2 separate regions of the Homo sapiens genome follow, and region 2 is linked to region 1. The links are contacts of gene promoters, found by promoter capture Hi-C in human tissues and cell types (Jung and others, 2019). All regions are on one chromosome and are shown on one strand. The core of a region is centred on a gene start or on the middle of the fragment in contact, and the rest is flanking DNA. Distances in the headings are between cores, read along the strand shown.

Evidence for each region. The method cuts DNA at HindIII sites, captures the fragments that hold promoters and counts their contacts. A contact is called where the count stands out against the background at its distance.
Region 2: a fragment that was not itself captured here is called in contact with the fragment with the promoter of ZNF92 in region 1 in 1 of the 25 tissues and cell types used here (hippocampus).

Annotation. Positions count from the first base shown.
Region 1 is chr7:65,370,885-65,378,741 of GRCh38, reverse strand. It overlaps ZNF92 (zinc finger protein 92), which reads right to left and starts at 4,887. Exons shown (of 4, transcript NM_152626.4): 1 at 4,742-4,887. The coding sequence starts at 4,744. RefSeq lists an enhancer at 4,457-4,856 and a silencer at 4,752-5,022. The HindIII fragment of the contact is 8,860 bases long and covers 2,396-7,857 here.
Region 2 is chr7:65,040,782-65,048,638 of GRCh38, reverse strand. It overlaps the pseudogene CCT6P3. Among named protein-coding and RNA genes, the nearest start is that of SNORA22C, 21 kb to the left of the region's middle. RefSeq lists a silencer at 1,601-1,801 and an enhancer at 5,430-5,942. The HindIII fragment of the contact is 9,741 bases long and covers 1,737-7,857 here.

The DNA.
Region 1 (7,857 bases), core at 3,638-6,137:
GAGACGGAGTCTTGCTCTGTCGCCCAGGCTGGAGTGCAGTGGCACGATCTCGGCTCACCGCAAGCTCTGCCTCCCGGGTTCACACCATTCTCCTGCCTCAGCCTCCCGAATAGCTGGGACTACAGGCGCCCGCCACCACGCCCAGCTACTTTTTTGTATTTTTAGTAGAGATGGAGTATCACCATGTTAGCCAGGATGGTCTCGGTCTTCTGACCTCGTGATCCGCCCACCTCGGCCTCCCAAAGTGCTGGGATTACAGGTGTGAGCCACCACGCCCGGCCAAAAATACTTCTTAATCAGACTTTACTTATCTCCTTCCCACCAACTCCTGCGCTTTGAGCTACCTTCAGTCTGAGCCAACATACAACCTCACTTTATGTCCCTTCTAAGAATATACTGACTTCAAGGTAAAACATTCTCTCATCTAAAATCTGATTTTTTTTTTTTTGAGACAGAGTCTGGCTCTGTTGCCCAGGCTGGAGTGCAGTAACGCTCAGTTCACTGCAACCTCCATCTCCCAGGTTCAAGGGATTCTCCTGCCTCAGCCTCCTGAGTAACTGGGATTACAGTCGCCCGCCACCACACCCAGCTGATTTTTGTACTTTTAGTAGATCCGCCCACCTCAGTCTCCCAAAGTGCTGGAATTACAGGCATGAGCCACCATGCCAGGCCTAAAGTTTGATTCCCTCCATTTGCAGTTCCCCGCCTACCTTCTTTCTAATCTTGTTTGCTCCTATGAAAGAAAGCCCTTGTCTGCCTAAACTTTGCAATCCTTAAAGATCTTGTAGTTGGTACTTCCTCCTGTTGCAATACTCCTTTGGAATTCAAATGTTTTTACATAATTCTAACTTTGTTTTATTTTAGAAAGTAACTGCCAGGCTGGGCGCAGTGGCTCACGCCTGTAATCCCAACACTTTGGGAGGCCGAGGTGGGTGGATCATGAGGTCAAGAGATGGACACCATCCTGACCAACATGGTGAAACCCCGTCTCTACTAAAAATACAAAAATTAGCTGGGTGTGGTGGCACGAGCCTGTAGTCCCAGCTACTCAGGAGGCTGAGGCAGGAGAATCACTTGAACCCGGGAGGCGGAGGTTGCAGTGAGTCTAGATCGCGCCGTTGCAGTGAGTCTAGATCGCGCCAGTGCACTCCAGCCTGGCGACAAAGCAAGACTCCATCTCAAAAAAAATAAATAAACAAATAAAAAGTAACTGCCTCAAAACAAACTGCCTCTAGAAACTGCCTCAAAACAATGACAGCTTTATCTTCAGTAAGACCCTCCCAATCCCCTTCCATCTTAATGTTAACTCCATCTGCCTGTGGGTCCCCAGCTTTCCAGGGCTCTGTAGCTTCTCTCAGTATAAAGACTTCTTCTATGGCTGGGGTGAGCAGGCTGGGACATCTTCAGGGGAGGCTCCCCAAAAAGAACCTAACTGGGCCTTTAATAACCTCCTTTTGCAGGCTCAATAATAGCCATAGCTTGGAGTCATTGGGCTGAAGCTTTAATTTCCATGTTAGAGTCATTCTCTTGGTTTTTGAAACTAAGTGTTTGAAAAATCCAGCAAAATTACTCAAACACAGTATAAATACGAGGGAAGGAAATTTTAAGGTGCTTACATTTCACACCTCAATAAGAAAAGCAAAAGTATCTATTACCTTCAGACAACAGATTTATTATTTTATTATTTCCATTAAAAATCACGTAGTCATATGGGAACACTTTTAGTAGGTACCAAGTTTAATCTCGTAAAATTTAGCGTGAAACTCAGACATCAAGATAACATGGTATAGAACAGACATATTCGCTGTAACAAATTTACTCTGCAAAGTGAATCTATGTAACTCACCAATTATCTACCATATTTTCTTGTGGAAATGTATTCATTTTCTACAGCCAAAATGGAAGAGAGATTATCTCTATTCTTTTCCTTGGTAGCATTCTAAAAGCTAAGCCTTAGAATTATGTTTGTAATTACCCAGCCATAAAAAACACAAGTGGGCTAGGCGCGGTGGCTCACGCCTGTAATCCCAGCATTTTGGGAAGCCAAGGTGGGCAGATCACGAGGTCAGGAGTTCAAGACCAGCCTGACCAACATGGTGAAATCTTGTCTCTACCAAAAATACAAAAATTACCCAGGCATGGTGGCACGCACCTGTAATGTCAGCTACTCAGGAGGCTAAGGCAGCAGAATCGCTTGAACCTGGGAGGCAGAGGTCACAGTGAGCTGAGATCACACCACTGCACTCCAGCCTGGGTGACAGAGCAAGAGTCTGTCTCAAGAAACAACAAAAACAAGTGAGAAAATTCCTAAACTCATTCTGGGAAAAACAAAAAAGGTAAAAGAATTTTTAGCAAATGGAATATGTGATTAGATATTAATTTTTTCCTGAAACTCACCTCTTTTATGCCCTTTGTAAATATGTCTTACCTTTCAAGCCCTAATAAAATGAAAGTCAAAATAAGTAAAAAAAAATATTTTCAAGGTGACAAACCCAGGAAGTAGCAGTGCTGATCAGAAAACAGATTTGTCAGCAGGCGTGGTGCCTCACGCCTGTAATCCTAGCACTTTGGGAGGCCAAGGCAGGTGGACTGCCTGAGCTCAGGAGTTTGAGACCAGCCTGGGCAACAGAGTGAAACCCAGTCTCTACTAAAATACAAAACACTAGTCGGGTGTGGTTGTGCGTGCCTGTAATTCCAGCTACTCGGGAGGCTGAGGCAGCAGAATCTCTTGAACCCAGAAGGCAGAGGTTGCAGTGAGCCGAGACCACGCCACTGCACTCCAGCCTGGGCAATAGAGGGAGACTCAATAACCACCCTCTCAGAAGACACTATACCCCAGGTGTATTTTACTTTGCAAGTTCTTGTACCATCTCACTGGGATCAGGTTGTTTTTGTTTGTTTGTTTGAGACGGAGTCTCGAGGCTGGAGTGCAGTGGCATGATCTTGGCTCACTGCAATCTCCCTCTCCCGGGTTCAAGCGATTCCCCTGCCTCAGCCTCCCGAGTAGCTGGGATTACAGGCATGCACCACCATGCCTGGCTAATTTTTTGTATTTTAGTAGAAACCGGCTTTCACCATATTGGCCAGGATGGTCTCGATCTCCAGGTCAGGTTTTGTTGTATCTTTTGGAATACTTTTTTTTTTTCCACAAATCTTAGAGAATCCTGGGGACAGAAATAATTTTGGTGTTTTCCTCCCAGTACCAGCATCTGATTGGCTGACCAGCAATGTTTCTCCAAGAAATGAAAGCTGGGTTGAGTGAAGACAATCTTAATATCTCAAGGGGTAAGCTTTTCAAAGGAAGAGTAGCCCAGGAGATGCTTCTCAGCCCCAGGGCATCCACCTGCTCCCTTGAGAAGCTACATTCCATACTTCAGGTTATTCTACGAGAGAAAATGACCCAGGAGCTGATATTTACTAGACACTCTAGCGACATTGCCATGGTAGGTATCTTGCCCCAGACAGTACTAAAACCCAGGACCAGAAAAAGAACTGAAGGGTGGCTGAGAACACATCACCCCATAAAGTTTCCAAAGGGAAAGCAACCATGACCCAAAAACATTCTGATAAGATCTCTGTGCCTAAGGAAGATAAAAAGAAAAGAGGCACAGAGATTTACAATACAATGTTAGGGGATTATTCTTTGCTTTCTTCTCATAGGAAATATTTACAAACAGGAAACAAATCTTTTAAAACGTGCCATCCAATGCTTTGCCAAAAATGATTAATTAAAATATGCCATCGAAAATGTACACTAAAGGAAACACACTTGCTAATGCGAATTAGGGAGGGTAAGTTGGCATTTGGGAATGTCAGAAGGAACTGGAAATTTAGTATTTTACTGCAAGCCAGAATTAAGCTGGAGGAATGAGGGATGGGGGGTAGACTTGAGACCCTGCTTGGGACACATGTGAAAACTGCAGGGGAAAATCAGTCCCCTGTGGATGTGAAAATAATTAAGTGGCAGGCAATTAGATTGAGGTGGCTCTAGTCCCTGGGTTCCTACTTTAAAAAAAATATAATTCAAATGCATTTTTGGCGGGGGGAGGGGAGGGTAAATAACACCGAGGGAACAAAATTCAGGCTTAACCAACTATAAACTGACAATCTCTGATTACATGACCAGGAAATTTCTACCTTAATCATACAAATTAAAAAACGACGTAACTGTACCTAACCAATTATTAAACTTGTTTTTTTTCATTATGCATCTTATAAAAGTGTTTCCTTCAAGCCCCTCCCACGGACCACAAACTACAAATCATAGCTGGGTGCTCTAAAATTCCTGAATCGCTCTTTGATTAAATTCTTCAATATTTTTACCTTGACTCCCATAAATTTTTAATAGGAAAAAAGAGGACCTGAGAACCACACGGACCAAAGCTCTTCCCATTCATAAACCCCGCACCCCGAGTCAGGATTCTTCTCTTTACTATTCTCCCGTCGTCCCTGCACACTCGGCGAGAGATGCGACGCTGCGGGTGCAGAGCTGCCCAGGGAGGGCTCCAGGCCAAAGCACAGTCACTGCGCAGGGAGGAGACAGGACGCCCGGGGTCCCGGCTGTCAGCCCAGCCGCCATCTTATGGCTGAAGGAGACTGAGGGCCGAGCTGCGCCAAGGAGAACTCGGGCCGCGGATCTCGGAGCCGACTGCGGGAAGGCCCGAGGCCCGCCACAGCCACTTCCAATCGGTTCCAGCCAGACCCTCCCCCTCTCTCGGGATGTGGGACCCAGCAGGCTCACCATTTCTAGGCTTCCAGGGGGTCCTGGCGTCTTAGCTGTGAACCTCCAAGTTCTTGCAGGTAACAGGGTCACAGCGGCGAGCCTTTATCAGCACAGGACGCAGAGCAGTGAAGACTAGACGTGGAGCGCCGGCTGCAGCGAGAGACAAAGGCCCCGCCAAATCCCGGAAGCTGTGCTGTCCGCTCCAGTTGCGTGCCTGATTGGATGGTTCCCAGCCCAGCGTTCCTGATTGGATAACGTTTAAGGCCCCGCCCCTTCGGGCCCTGAGTGACGGGAGATGTGATCAGATGCTGGACTGAAGGAAGAGTGACAGCCTAAGCTGCAGCCTTTTCAGACGGGGCTTCCTCCCTGAGCTGAGTCAGGCCCACCCCAGACAGTATTTGCATTTAACCTTGTGAATAAGGCCATATGCATTTATAAATAGTATATTATATGTCTATTCACAAATGCAAAGAATATAATACCAATTATTCAAAATTTTCAGATTTTATGACCTTCCTGGCTTCTGGTTTTGTTGTTTTGTTTTGTTTTTGGTTTTTGTTTTTTGAGACAGAGTCTAGCTCTGTCGCCAGGCTGGAGTGCAGTGGCACGAGCTCAACTCGCTGCAACCTCCGCCTCCCAGGTTCAAGCGATTCTCCTGTCTCAGCCTCCCGAGGAACTGGGACTACAGGCGCACGCCACCACACCCAGCTAATTTTTGTATTTTTAGTAGAGACGGGGTTTCACCATGTTGGCCAGGATGGTCTTGATCTCTTGATCTTGTGATCCGCCCGCCTCGGTCTCCCAAAGTGCTGGGATTACAGGTGTGAGCCACAGAGCCCGGCCAACTTCTGTTTTTTTAAGCAGGCAGCCTGAAATTTTAAAAAGAAGGCAATCCTCTAAAATAAAATGTGGGCGACACGTGAATTGTACATTTTTTAGCAGCCAAACTTTAAAAAGAAACAAGAAACAGGTGAAATTGATTGTAACAATTTAACCCAATATATCTAAAACCTTATTCTAATATGTGAGTGATATGTAATTATTAATAAAGTATATATATTTATTTGGAACTGAATCTTTGAAATTAACTCTATTTTACCTTTCTAGCACATTGCAATTCAGACCAGCCACATTCCAGGCAGCCAGTAGCTACACATGGCCAATAGCTGCCACATTGAAATGCAGCCCTGACATCAGGAGGGTGAAGGGTCTGAACACCCCTTTTCTGCCAGAAGTGAGGGGACAGCCTCTCTTTACCAACATCTTTCTACAGTTTTGAGGGTGGAACAAGATAGTCACCATAGAAAGAGCAGAGGGCAGCAAGAATAAAATAACCACAGGTACACCACTGCTGGCCACCTGTTGCCCACCTTTCTTCCAGAGATCAGACAGTAACCAAAAGATGATGGGGCCACAGGAGATTAAACGCTATGTCTTCAGATCTCTCCACAGTCATCACTTCCAGTGTTTAAGTATAGAGAAAACAGATTAAAGGTAAACTTATTTTGCTATTTGGCCTGGCCCTAGTGGCCAGAGTGTGTTTATCTGTTTTCTCCTGTGGCGTGGGGATTGTGTGAGTACAAGTACCAATCCCATGCAAACATGCCTACATATTTTTCTGCATTACTCAATATTATCTTACAAAACATCCAACTTTAGAGCAGAAAAAAAAATCAGCACTTTTAGGGTGCCAACTGTTGGAAGGTAACTATAACAACCAGTAATCAACCTGTCATTAAATCCTGGCATCCTATCTGCACTGTGTGCACGTATTAGTTAGGTATTGCAGCATAACAAACCAACCAAGGCTTTTTTTTTTTTTTAAATACAGAGTTTCGCTCTTGTTGCCCAAACTAGAGTGCAATGGCACGATCTCAGCTCACCGCAACCTCCGCCTCCTGGGTTCAAGTGATTCTCCTGCCTCAGCCTCCTGAGTAGCTGAGATTACAGGTATGCGCCACCACGCCTGGCTAATTTTGTATTTTTAGTAGAGATGGGGTTTCTCCTTGTTGGTCAGGCTGGTCTCAAACTGCTGACCTCAGGTAATCCGCCCACCCCGGCCTCCCAAAGTGCTGGGATTACAGGCGTGAGCCACTGCGCCCAACCCAGCTAAGGCTTCTTAGCTCACAATTGAGATGGTCAGTCATTTAAGCTGGGCTCAGTGGAGCAATTCTTCTGATCTCAGCTGAGCTCCTTCAGACATGTGTTATCAGCTGCTTGTTAACTAGGCAGCTGTGCTTCTGGATGTGCGCTTCTGGAGCTGTCAACAGGGACACCTTGCTTCTCCTCCCCATGGTATGTCATCCTCCAGCTGCCTAGCATGGGCTTTTTTTCACAGAGATGGCAGCATTGTGAAAGAAAAACAGAAGCATTCAAGACTGCTAAGCCCCAAACTGGCACGCTATCATGGTCACATGTTTTTACTGCCTTGAGCAAACAAGGCCAGCCAGATCTAGGTTTCGGAAAACAGATTCTGGATCTCAATGGGAACAGCTGTAAAAATCCCTGGCAACGGGCGTGGACATAGAAGGGATAAAAAATTGCTACCATTTTTGCAATCAGTATCATTCTACCTTTTTTTGCATATGTGGTTTATAGAACTCTTGTACATCAGGAAACTTGTCCAAAGACCCACATCTACTAAGTGGCTGGGCTGAGATTCAGGATCAACTCTGTCTGACCCCAAAGCCAATGCACCTCCATAAATAACACTACCAAAGTAACTGCCTTAGACCCTTGAAATCCTGGCGAGTGACCCTTCTAGAATAGATGCCAGATTCTTTCAAATTTATGCCCATATAGTACTGTTTAATTATTGCTAATACTCTCAAGAACTGCAGATGCACACGGTGGCTCACGTCTGTAATTTTGGCAGTTTGGGAGGCTGAGATGGGAGAATCACTTGAGCTCAGGAGTTCAAGTGCAGCCTGGGCAACATAGTAAGATCCTGTCTTCATGAAAAAAGTTAAAAAAATTAGCCAGGCATAATGGCATAATGGTGCATGCCTGTAGTCCCAGCTACTCGGGGAGCTGGAGCAGGAGGATTGCTTGAGCACGGAAGGTCAAGGCTGCAGTCAGCCATAAGTGGTTACACCACTGCACTCTAGTCTGGGTGATACAGTGAGACCCTATCT
Region 2 (7,857 bases), core at 5,358-7,857, 330 kb after region 1:
AGTTTCATTTCTATATACAAAGTGAGACACTCTATTCCAAGGATTGTTGTCCTGGGTGTAAGCATTATAGATAATTTACATTTTCTTCCTTTTGCTTATTTTCTCTCAAATATTCTAAATGCACTTTTTTGTGTGTGCTTTTTTACTTTTTATTTTATTTTATTTTATTTTTGAGATGGAGTTTCACTCTTGTTGCCCAGGCTGGAGTGCAATGGCGTGATCTTGGCTCACTGCAACCTCCGCCTCCTGGGTTCAAGCAACTCTCCTGCCTCAGCCTCCCGAGTAGCTGAGATTACAGGCATGCACCACCATGCCCGGCTAATTTTGTATTTTTAGTAGAGATGGGGTTTCACCATGTTGGTCAGGCTGGTCTCCAACTCCTGACCTCAGGTGATCCACCCACCTCAGCCTCCCAAAGTGCTGGGGTTACAGGCGTGAGCCACTGCACCCAGTCTATTTTATTTTATTTTCTTGAGACAGAGTTTGCTCTGTCGCTCAGGCTGGAGTGCAGTGGCATGATCTCAGCTCACTGCAACCTCTGCCTCCCAGGTTCAAGTGATTCTCCTGCCTCAGCCTCCCAGGTAGCTCAGACTACAAGCACCCACTACCATGCCCGGCTAATTTTTGTATTTTTAGTAGAGATGGGGTTTCACCATGTTGGCCAGGCTGGTCTTGAACTCCTGACCTCACGTGATACATCCGCCTCAGCCTCCCAAAGTGCTGGGATTACAGGCATGAGCCACCGTGCCTGGCCAACTTTTTATTTTAAAATTACTATAACTATAAATCACAGGAATTTACAAAAAAGTACACAGGGAGGTCCCAAGTACCCTCGCCCAAATTCCTCCAATCCTGAGTTTATTCAGGTTTCACCAGTTTTGTATGCAAATGGGACTTGAGTACGCTAGGATTTATATGCAGTATGTGTGTGTGTGGTTGTATGAAGTTTTTATCACGTTTGCAGCTTTGTATAATCACACCTGAGACACAGAACTGTTCCATCCCTACACAGCTCCCTCATGCTACCACTTTATAACCACACCACCCCTCACCTCCCATTCCTAACTCCTAGCAACCACTAAATCTGTTCTCCATCTCTGCAGGTTTGTTATTTCAATAATGTTACATAAATGCAATCATACAGTATATAACCTTCTAGGGTTCTCACTTGTTTTCACTCAGTATAACTCTCTTGAGATAACCTGGCAGTACAAATCAGTTGTCTCTAATATATTAAAATTTAGCATGAGATGCATTTGACTGTGTTTAAACATTTATAATATTTTAAAGTTAAAACATTAAAATGTGAATCAAAGGTGTATGAAATCCCTGTTTCATTGACAGAGAACAGGGATTCTGAGATACAAATTTTGAAAACTGGGAATCTAATACAAGCCTAGTACAATGTAGTACAGGTTGAGTATTCCTTATCTGAAACAGCTTTGGAGCTGAAATACTTTGGATTTGGGATTTTTTCAGATTTGGGAATATGTGCATTATATACCGGGTTGAGCATCCCAAATCTGAAAGTCCAAAATCTGAAATGGTTCAAAATCCAAAACTTTGAGTGCCAATATGACACTCAACGGAAATGCTCACAGGGGCATTTCAGATTTTGGATTTTTGGATTAGGGATCCTCAACCAGTACAACAACTTTATAGAAGAAAAGCCCAAGACTCAGTGCTATGTCTTATCAGTGTTTACAAGAGTACATGGTTTACAAGAACGCCTGGTTTTGCACTTGTTATGGGCAAGATCTAGATTCTGGTTCTTTCCCAACCCAGTTGAGTATGTTACATTCAAATATGACCACTTGCTATTCTTCTCAAATGACCACAGTTTGCTACCCCTTCAAGTTCTTCCTAATGATTGAGGAAATGAACTCCTCTTAAATTCCCAGATCTGTGTGGCGCTTTAGCTAGCACCACACCTCAGGTCCAATTCTCCTGTCTTTATATGCAGCAGGTCCACAGGACAAGGCCTCCCTCAGAAAAAGCTACCCCAATCTAGGACAAAAACAAACTCTTTTCCCTCCCCCTCCCTCCATGTGCCCAGAACCCCTTTCTCCTTCCTCCCTAGGCTAACCTGCTAAGTCTTCCGGATAGCTCACTACACTATCTGATAGCTAACTGGGTGTGACAAACCACGTCCTCACACCTTAGAAGGCAAAACACTCCAGGAACTTACTTCTGGAATACCAATACCTTCACAGTAATTTCCCTGCCTTTCCAAAGAGTGCTCTAAACAGGTAAAAGCTATAATACAAACTCTATATATTTTTGTCACAGATACAGAAACTGGCACCATCGTTTGCATATTTTAAAAATCTGGTTGATATGGTTATCACTCTATCAATATTAGATCTAAATGGAATTTAAAGTAGTGGTAAAAGGCTGGGCGTGGTGGCTCACACCTGTAATCTCAGCACTTTGGGAGGCCAAGTGGGAAGACTGCTTGAGGCCAGGAGTTTGAGACCAACTCAGGCAACAAAGTGAGACCTGGTCACTATGAAAAATAGAAAAAATTAGCTAGGCATGGTGGGGTGCGCAACTGTAGACCCAGCTACTCAGGAAGCTGAGGTGGGAGGATCACTTGACCTAGGGAGGTTGAGGCTGCAGTGAGCCATGATTGCACCACTGCACTCAGCCTGGGGAGACAGAGTGAGACAATGTCTCAAAAAATTAAAGAGGAAGGAAGGAAAAGAAAGAGAGAAAAGAAAGGAAAGGAAAGGAAAGGAAGAAGGAGGGTGGGAGGGAAAGGAAGAAAGGAAGACGAAAGAGTAGTGGTAAAGAGCTTGGACTCTTGAGCCAGACTGCGTGGGTTAGAATTAGGCCTCTGCCACTGTACTACCTGGATCAAATGTTAGTCTGAGTGGCTCAGTTTTCCCATCTGTAAAATGGTGATAAAAGCTACCTGCCTCATGGGACTCTTGAGAGACTTCAATAATGTATGCAAAACATTTAGAACACTGCCTAGCACATAGTGAGCATTATCTGTAAGTATTAACATTTATCTCTACTACAGTCCAGATTCACTTCCTTGTGATATTTCTCTATTCCTCTTGGACTCTTTTCAGTTCAACCTGCTTCTGAAATTTCCATACCAAGAAACAATGATAATGTTAAGAATTTTATTTCTGAAATTTATCTTGGTTAGTCAAAACTACTAGAACAAATTCTCTTTTACGTACTAGCAGTTATTAACATTTCACTAAATATGAACATAAGCATTTAAAGTATGGGAGCAATGGAACAAATGCCAAGCAAAAAGCAGGCTATCAATAAGGACGCATACACGATACACCCATGTTAAAAAAAGGGAATCATATGGTCACATGGATGTTTGTCTATGTGTCAAACGGCTCTGAAAAGTTTCACAGCGGTCTACTGAGAGGGAGAACTGTCTGTTTGGTGGAAGGGATATGAAGGAGACTTTTCACTGTACATGCTTTGTTATCTTTCAAATCCGAAGCAGCGAATGCATTACCTAGACAAGAATTTAATTTTTTTTTTTTTTGAGACAGAGTCTCACTCTGTCACCTAGGCCGGAGTGCAGTGGCACGATCTCGGCTCACCGCAACCTCCACCTCCTGGGTTCAAGTGATTCTCCTGCCTCAGCCTCTCAAGTAGCTGGGACTACAGGCATGCGCCACCATGTCTGGCTAATTTTTTTTTGTATTTTTAGTAGAGACGGGGTTTCACCATGTTAGCCAGGATGGTCTTGATCTCCCGACCTCATGATCCGCCCACCTCGGCCTCCCAAAGTGCTGAGATTACAGGCGTGAGCCACTGTGTCCGGCCAAGAATTTAATTTTTAAAATGGGGGTGCAAAGGGGACTTTAAATAAGTACTCTGGAAGCCAGGTGTCAAGTCTCAATTTGCTACTACCTGTGCTACCTTGGGCAAGTCACTTAACCTCTGAGTCTCAGACAAAGCAAGGAGCAGTAAATAGTTCTAGGTTCTTTTTTTTTTTTTTTTTAAAGACAGAGTTTCCCTCTTGTTGCCCAGGCAGGAGGGCAGTGGCACAATCTCGGCTTACTGCTACCTCCACCTCCCGGGTTCCAGCAATTCTCCTGCCTCAGCCTCCCGAGTAGCTGGAATTACAGGTGCCCACCACCACGCCCGGCTAATTTTTTGTATTTTTAGTAGACAGGGGGTTTCACCATATTGGCCAGGCTGGTCCTGAACTCCTGAACTCAGGTGATCCACCCACCTCAGCCTCCCAAAGTGCTGGGATTACAGGCGTGAACCACTATGCCCAGCCCTAGGTTCTATTCTAATTCTAAAAGTTTTATTATCTCAATGGGATAGTAAATAGATGGTACTTTTAAGATACGGGAGAGGTAGTAATCCAACATTTTGTAAAATAAGGCAACTTTTTTATGGACTTGATTTTCAAATGCAGTGGACCCTTGAACAACACGGGTTTAAGCTGCGTGAGCTCACTTATATGTGGATCTTTTTCAACCAAATGCAGACCGAAACCGGCATATATGGAGGCCCAAATTTTCACATTCAGGTTCTGCAGGGCCCACAGTGTGGACTTGGGTATGCCAGGATTTCAGTAAAAACAGGGGTCCTGGAACCAATCCCCTATGGTATATGTTCTTTACATATACCATAGGACAACTGGACTATTTTTACAGTTTTAAGAAACGTAGATTTGTCAAGCCTATTAACCTTTCCAGATCATTTGTACTATTCTTACATAGAAACCCTTCTTAGAGGGGGTCTTATATATAGAAAATACCTACATAGAATATTCTGCATATTACAGCCGGACGCGGTGGCTGATGCCTATAATCTCAGCACTTTCGGAGGCTGAGGCAGGCAGATCACCTGAGGTCAGGAGTTCAAGACCAGCCTGGCCAACATGGCAAGACCCTGTCTCTACTAAAAATACAAAAATTAGCCGGGCATGGTGGTGGGCGCCTGTAATCCCAGCTACTTGGGAGGCTGAGGTAGGAGAATCACTTGAACCCGGAAGGTGGAGGTTGCAGTGAGCTGAGATCATGCCACTGCACTCCAGTCCTGGTGACAGAGCAGCGAGACTCCATATCTAAAAAGAAAAAAAAAAAAGAATATTCTGCATATTAGTTTCTCTTGCACAACTTCAAAATTGTTTTAAATGAACACATCTTTATACTATGCTATGAAGTCAGCAATAAACTACATTAAAACAATTAATGTTTAAAGATATAAACAAGTATGTACAAGAAACTTAACTTAAAGGCATTTATTATCAAACACTGGAAAAAAAAGAACATCTCCAATCAATGGTAACAGCTATAACTGAGGACAGGCTTTATTTCAGGAACATACATGTATCACTTTTCATCATAACACTAATCTGGCAAAGTAGGTTTTTTTGTTTTTCTTTTTTTGAGACAGGGTCTCTCTCTACCACCCAGGCTGGAGTGCAGTGGCACCATCATGGCTCACTGCAGACCTCTGCCTCTCAGGCTCAAGTGATCCTCACACCTCAGCCTCCCAAGAAGCTGGAAATACAGGCATGCGCCACCATGCCCGGTTAACGTTTGTATTTTTTGTAAAGACACGGTTTTGCCCTGTTGCCCAGGCTGGTCTGAAACTCCTGAGCTCAAGAGGTCTGCCAGGTGTCAGCGTCCCAAAGTGCTGGGATTACAGGTGTGAGCCACTGCACCAGGCCCTAAGTAGGTGTTAAAAGCCCTATTTAACATAAGAAACTGAGGCACCATGAAGATAAGGCCACAAGCCTAAGAACTGGGAGAGGTGGTAGCCCACCCAGATCCCTTAGATTTGAGCTCAGTGTACCAAACCAAGGGGCAGGGACTGCTAACTGAATGTTAGCTGGCAGGCTGGTGCAGGTTTGCAGCAGAGTTTTCACCGATTTATGGGAAAATGGGAAAAAGTAAGGACACGAAAGTAAACTTTTTTTTTTTTTTTGAGACAGTCTCGTTCTGTCACACAGGCTGGAGTGCAATGGCGCGATCTCGGCTTACTGCAACCTCCACATCCCAGGTTCAAGTGATTCTCCTGCCTCAGCCTCCCGAGTAGCTGGGATTACAGGTGCATGCTACCATGCCCAGCTCGTTTTGTGTTTTTAGTAGAGACGGGGTTTCAGCATGTTGGCCAGGCTGGTCGGAAAGTAAACTTTTCCATATAGCTAAATGATTCCATTTAAAAATCTTCTATTCTGAGAGATTCTGTTCTTTCAAATTGTTTGAATGGAAATATCCTTTTGTTAAATGAAACGATGATGACAGGAGATAGTGGTGTGTTATTGTTTTTATTGGCTGTACCTGGTAGAATTGAAAAATCAGCATTTCTATTGTAGCCTACTAATTTCAGTGAAATATTTCTTTAGAAATATAAAATCTGGAACTTTCCATCATTATGCCTCCCCAAAATAATAGAGGACTTTACACACAGATAACACCTGCCTCTCAAGATTCTCTCATTAATCTCTACCTTATTGTGTTTGGATTAAGACACTTAGGGCTTGTGAAATGAGAATAAAGTGAGTTTGAGCAATCCAAAACCACGTGCTGACTCTGGATCCTGGAAGATGACTTTCTTCAGAATCTTTATCTGTTAACTTTCCTCTGGACTTAAACTTTGTTTTCCTAAAAGAGTTACATATTTGAGTACTACTGCTACACGGCAATCACTACTCAAAAGAAACTAACTTGAGGTGTCCAATAATCAGCTTTCATTTAAAGTCTCTTTCAGGCTAGGCGCGGTGGCTCACGTCTGTAATCCCAGCACTTTGGGATGCCGAGGAGGGCGGATCACGAGGTCAGGAGATTGAGACCATCCTGGCTAACATGGTGAAACCCCGTCTCTACCAAAAATAGAAAAAATTAGCCGGGCATTGTGGCGGGCGCCTGTAGTCCCAGCTACTCAGGAGGCTGAGGCAGGAGAATGGAGTGAACCCGGGAGGTGGAGGTTGCAGTGAGTCGAGATCGCGCCACTGCACTCCAGCCTGGGCGACAGAGCAAGACTCTGTCTCAAAAAAAAAAAAAGAAAAGTATCCTTCAGCTTGACAAAATAAAAACTTTCAATGATGTTTTGTCTACGCACTTCCAAAAGAAAATGAGTCTATATATGTACATATATGTGATTATATATATATATATACATATGTGATTTTGATCAGCCTGCTTATAAACTACCTGCAAAACAAGTTGATTTGTAAATTCATTTATTAAATGAGTAGTTTATAAGCTACTTGATTTTTGCAAGTAGTTTATAAACAGGCTGATCAAATTGAACAAATTTCTTAATTTCACTGTATACATGGCAAATAAGTTATCTACTCTTCTTATTAGCAAATCTTATTTTTACCTACCCTCCTTTGGCAAGCATCTAAGTTAAACTATTTTACGTCCACAGCTACACAATGAAACATCACTTTCAGTCACAACATATTAAATTCACATTTAAAACTATAAAGAGATCCAGTTACCTTTAGTCTTACATGTACTTATACATATTTTTAATATACTACTTGATGTTTTATGCACAAACACGCAGCTCTAGCAGGATATAACTATGAGAATATTTAGAGTGTATGCTAAATACACCTTTTTAAAGAAAAGTCAATTTTTTAAATTATTTTTATTTATTTATTTATTTATTTATTTGAGATGGAGTCTCATTCTGTTGCCCAGGCTGGGGTGCCATGGTGTGGTCTTGGCTCACTGCAACCTCTGCCTCCCAGGTTCAAGCAATTCTCCTGCCTCAGCCTCCCAAGTAGCTGGGACTATAGGCACATGCCACCACACCCAGCTAATTTTTGTATTTTTGGTAGAGACAGGGTTTCACCATGCTGGTCAGGATGGTCTTGAACTCCTGACCTCATGATCCACCCACCTC